2 separate regions of the Homo sapiens genome follow, and region 2 is linked to region 1. The links are contacts of gene promoters, found by promoter capture Hi-C in blood cells and fetal thymus (Javierre and others, 2016). All regions are on one chromosome and are shown on one strand. Each heading gives the region's core, a stretch centred on a gene start or on the middle of the fragment in contact. The rest is flanking DNA. Distances are from core to core; before and after follow the strand shown.

Region 1 (2,700 bases), core at 69-2,568:
TTTCTGGATCTAAAATTAAACGACTAAAAAGTAGATTACTGCAAGGGTAAAATGAACCACTGCTTGGCTTGAAACACTGTACTTGGTTCTTCAAGACCTTAGAAGTTCCGTCACTAACGAACTAATGCTAATACATGGTTGTGATACTTTTCACATTCAGCACTTTTAATATACATTCATTAATTTTATGTGAAATCAAAAGTAGTAAAATTGTCATTAATGAAACTAACGGTTACAAAGGCGAAAACTAAGAATAATTTATTGGCTTTGGTTTCTAAATTGCTGTTCCAGTGCCTCAGTGAAACACTTTTACACCCATGCTGTACTGTAAACATGATTTATCCACTTATATTTATTTAGTTCATGGCTCCAATTCAGGGCAATAAAACAAAGGTAAAACCTGAGACAAGGCAGGGCAGGTGTTAAAAGTATAATCGTTGCTTTATTATATCTGTAATCAACAGAATCAAAAGTATAGGCGCCTTTTCTTTTAGAAGGGAAGAAAAAGTTATTTCACTTGTACACGTAACAGAGTTTTATATAAAATGTTATTTTAATATTGTCATTATATACTACCTAATTCGTTAGGTGAGTTTATTTTCAAAGACTTTCGAAACTTTTTAATGTTCAGAAAACTTTTTCCATTTTACATTAAGAGCGATCCAATATTTATTAGTTAACGATTTGAAGGTTTCCTACCTCTGAGGAGGAATAAAAGGTAGGCAGAAGATTAAAATGAGTCCTATTTCGGCATAAAGAAAGGTTGCCACTGCAGCCCATTGGAGTGTCATTTTTTTCTTCACACCTAAATGGAAAAACACTTATTTTCTCTTGCTTCCTTTCAAACAAAACCGGGTTCAAGGCCCCGAGGCGCAGCGTTTTTGTCCAGGGGATGGACAGTGTTCCACCTTCCCCCACCTGGGAAGGCAAGCACGGACCCCGGTCAGGAAGGGGAAAAGGGTGGCCCGGGAAGCGGGTGTCGCCACCTCCCTGGGAGTCGTGGGAACTGGCGAGGCGGCTCGCTGGCCACTGCCTTTTCCGCCAGCTTCGCGGCGACAGAAGCCCAACGCCTCCCTCCACCAACGCCCGGCTTCCCGGCCCTCCCGCTCCCAGAAGGCGCCGCGGGCCCTCGACCACCGCGCCGCGGACCGGGCCGGGCCGGGTCGGGCCAGGCCAGCTCCGCGGGGTTCTCCAGACCAGGCAGCGGCGCTCTCCCTCCGCGGCCTACGCCCCACGGGTCCCCGGGTCGCAGAAGCCCTTACCCGCCGGCAGCCCGCCTGGCTCCCTGCGCTGCTCCGCGGCCGCCGACGCGCGGGACGTCAGACGCCGCGGCTGGGCGGGGGAGGGGAGCCAGGGCCCCACCCCGCCTCACGCCCCGCAGGCTCCCGCCCGCGGGTCCGTCCCGGCTGAGGTCACAGGCGGCGCGACCACGTTTATTGGCAACAGTTGTTTTCTAATTGGCGGCAGGTCAGAGAATGAGTTAGACTTTTGACCTGATGCTTGGAGGTCGGAGCGCAACTTCTTCAGGAGGACAGACTTTCCACTGCTAAGTGCGGCCCCGGCGGGAGGGTGCCGGGGTCCAGGTCTAAGGAGCGGCGCCGGGCGGCGGGGCTGGATTGGGTGGTGCAAATTCAGCGAACGCGCTTAAGACGCACTCCTTTCCGGTCACCTACTCTCTCTTCATGGTGGGAACTGTTTGTGTCCAGAATTAAGCTATATTTAATAAAGGGCCAGGATGAGGTGGTCGTGCAGCATTTTGTTCTGGAGAACCTAGGATCAACTGTATGTCACAACATATTCCGTAGGCGTTCCCGTTCCCGTCCATGGGCTGGGAAGAGACAGTAAACTTTACCGTGATGTTTGGGGACTGGTACGAAAGGTGGGTATGGGGATATTCTTTCACTATTTTCCAGCTTTTCAAACTGTGCGTGTACATTTAAGTTGTTGAGTTTTTTCAATATTGACAACGTATCAGGAATTTAATAAAAGTACTATCCTGGTAACAATTATTTGGGGAATAGTAAATAAATGTTGAAAATTGATAATTATAGAATATAAAACATTCAAAAACACATTTAAGTTGGTGCTTTTTCTTAATTTATCACTAATATTCTGGATCACATGTAACAGAAAAAATAGAAAAATAGACTTTGAACATAAATTAACCATAAGGAAGATTTTTTTTTTTTTTTTGAGATGGAGTCTCCCAATGTCGCCCAGGCTGGATTGTGGTGGTGCGATCTCGGCTCACTGTAGCCTCTGCCTCCCAGGTTCAAGTGATTCTCTGGCCCCAGTCTCCAGAGTGGCTGGGATTACAGGCGCCTGCCACCATGCCTAGCTAATTGTTGTATTTTTAGCAGAGACAGGGTTTCACCATGTTGGCCAGGCTGGTCTCGAACTCCTGGACTCAAGTGATCTGCCTGCCTTGGCCTCCCAAACTGTTGGGATTACAGGTGTGAGCCACCGCGCCTAGCCAGGAAGTTACTTTTTTTTTTTTTTTTTTGAGACAGAGTCTTGCTCTGTTGCCCAGGCAGGAGTGCAGTGGCGCAATCTCAGCTCACTGCAAGCTCCACCTCCCAGGTTCACACCATTCTCCTGCCTCAGCCTCCTGAGTAGCTGGGACTATAGGCGCCCGCCACCACGCCCAGCTAATTTTTGTATTTTTAGTAGAGACGGGGTTTCACCGTGTTATCCAGGATG
Region 2 (2,700 bases), core at 16-2,515, 170 kb before region 1:
GTGAGCCACCACACCTGGCAGAAACTCAATTTTTCAAACCAGAAAATTATTGAGATAACAGCCAAGGAAATTAGGAGCACATTATCATTTTTCAGAGTAGTTCCACCTGTACTCCCATCATTAAACTATATATATTTTGATTGATGCCTAGGAAAACAACAATCAAAAACAAACTTATTTTACTCCAAAATCCGAGAGGGAAAGGAGAGAAAAGGATTTTGGCTTTTCTGCATTGTTTGAACTATTAAAGAATTATTTGTACACTAACGTGTTGTTTTAAAAAACTATTTTTTTAAACAAAGCCAAAGCAGGAGTGACCCTAAATTAGAGGTAGTGCAACAGCAGCCCTAGGTTATTACTAACACGATTTCTAACATTTTGACTTGAAATATACTTGTTTAGATGGCAGAGGAACCCTACGATAAAAGAAACCATAACATATGTTGTAACTAAAGCAGTTTGATTCTACAAAATAAATACAGACAAATTGCTGGAATAGAACAGAAAGTCCAGAAATACAAAAAAATACTTTTAATACAGGGGTCCCCAACTCCCAGGCCTTGGACCAGTACCCTTGGCCTGTTAGGAATGCGGCCACACAGCAGGAGGTGAGGGAAGGGCTAGGGAGCATTACCACTTGACCTCTGCCTCCGCCTCCCGTCAGATCAGCAGCCTCATTAGATTCTCATAGGAACGCAAACCCTATTGTGAACCGTGCAAGAGAGGGATCTAGGTTGGTGCTCCTTACAAGAATCTAACTAATGCAACAGTTGCATCCCGAAACCACTCCCCGCACCCTGCCATCACTCTCCACCTGTGGAAAAACTGTCTTCCACGAAACCAGTCCTGGTGCCAAAAAGATTAGGGACTGCTGCTTTAACATATATATGATAACAGTAAAATCCCTATTCAGCAAGGAAAAGAGTTGGGACAATGTTTCGAGGGAAAAAAAAAAAAGCCAGACCCCACCTTTTTTCCCCTTAATAACCATAAATGTTCTAAAGCAGTATCAGTGAACTTTTTCTGTGAAATGCTAAATAGTAAATATTTACGCTTTGTGGACCATATGGTCTCAATCACAATTACTCAACTCTACCATTATAGTGTGAAAGCCCCCATAGATAATACTTAAATGAATGAGCATAGCTGTGTTCCAATAAAATTGTTTATAAAAACAGGGCTACATTTGGCCCACAGACATAGTTTGCTAACCTGTAATCAAGGGTAAGATGGAAAAACTCTTTTATACTGGTGAAATAGGGGAAGGCCTTTCAAATAATGTCACAAAACCCAGAAGTCATAAAAGCAAAGACCGGATATCTGACTATATAGAATCTTCAAGATTCTCTGCAATAACTATAATCCCAGCACTTTGGGAGGCCGATGCGGGCGGATCATGAGGTCAGGAGATCGAGACCATCCTGGCTAACACAGTGAAACCCCGTCTCCACTAAAAATACAAAAATTAGCTGGGCGTGGTGGCGGGCACCTGTAGTCCCAGCTACTCGGGAGGCTGAGGCAGGAGAATGGCATGAACCTGGGAGGCAGAGCTTGCAGTGAGCCGAGATCCCGCCACTGCACTCCAGCCTGGGTGACAGCGCAAGACTCTGTCTCAAAAAAAAAAAGATTCTCTGCAATAAATATTTTGTATACAAAATTCAAAAGACAAATGAAGAATATATACAATATAGGCCAGGCACAGTGGCTCACGCCTGTAATCCCAGCACCTTGGGAGGCTAAGGCAAGAGGACTGTTGAGTCCAGGAGTTCAAAACCAGCCTGGGCAACATAGCAAGACCCCATGACTACAAAAATTAAATATAAAAAATTAGCCAGGCAGGTGGGGTGCACCTGTAGTCCCAGCTCCTCAGGAGACTGAGGTGGAAAGATCACTTGAGCCTGGAATATCAAGCCATGATCCCACCACTGCATTCCAGCCCAGGCAACAGAGTAAGACTCAGTCTCAAAAAAACAAAAACAAACAAACAAACAAACAAAAAAATATATATACACACACGCACATACATAACATATAACAAAAACCCTATTAATTTACAAAGAACTCAGAAGAAAGGATCTAAACAAGAATGGTCAATGCTATGAAAAAATATACACTCTTTCATAATTAAAATAAATTTACATCAAAACAAAAATTTTAAAAGGTTTCTAGTACTCAGTATTGGTGTATGGCAGTAAAAACTAACATACCTTTTTATTATTATTTTTTTAATTCCAAAGCCTTTAAAACTACAAATTTGGATATTTTAAAACTTGACAGATACTGTGGATTTTAGAGTTTGACAAGTACTGTCAAATTGCTCTTAAAAAAAAAAAAAAGGCCAAATCTGTGCAAAGTACAAATTCTACAAAGTATACATACTAAACTGTATGTCCAAGAATATTTGGTGCAATGTTTTTTGTAACAGAAAAAACTGGAAAAACTGTTAAATAAATTATGGTATATCTATAAATACCCAAACCTATTTTTTTAATGAGGTACATCTGTAAGTACTGATAAGAAAAAAATCTCAAATGCATATTACATGAAAAAATGGCAACTACACATAAAAAATTAATACTTTTGTATAAAAAAGTCAACAGGGATTATCTTTGGATAGAAGGATTTTACTTTTAATGTTATGCTTTCTGCAATACTGTTGAGATTACTGAACAATGGGCAGTATTGCTTTCAACAACAAAA

Evidence for each region. The method cuts DNA at HindIII sites, captures the fragments that hold promoters and counts their contacts. A CHiCAGO score of 5 or more calls a contact.
Region 2: a fragment that was not itself captured here is called in contact with the fragment with the promoter of BCAP29 in region 1 in 1 of 17 cell types (monocytes); the score reaches 5.2 in monocytes.

The regions. Positions count from the first base shown.
Region 1 is chr7:107,578,864-107,581,563 of GRCh38, reverse strand. BCAP29 (B cell receptor associated protein 29) reads right to left here and starts at 1,318. Exons shown (of 8, transcript NM_018844.4): 1 at 1,263-1,318; 2 at 700-805. The coding sequence starts at 791. It overlaps DUS4L-BCAP29 (DUS4L-BCAP29 readthrough), which reads right to left. Exons shown (of 13, transcript NR_163941.2): 7 at 700-805. RefSeq lists an enhancer at 811-880 and a silencer at 971-1,460. The HindIII fragment of the contact is 6,036 bases long and covers 1-2,700 here.
Region 2 is chr7:107,749,238-107,751,937 of GRCh38, reverse strand. The region is part of intron 2 of CBLL1 (Cbl proto-oncogene like 1); the gene reads right to left. Among named protein-coding and RNA genes, the nearest start is that of CBLL1-AS1, 6.0 kb to the right of the region's middle. The HindIII fragment of the contact is 5,237 bases long and covers 1-2,700 here.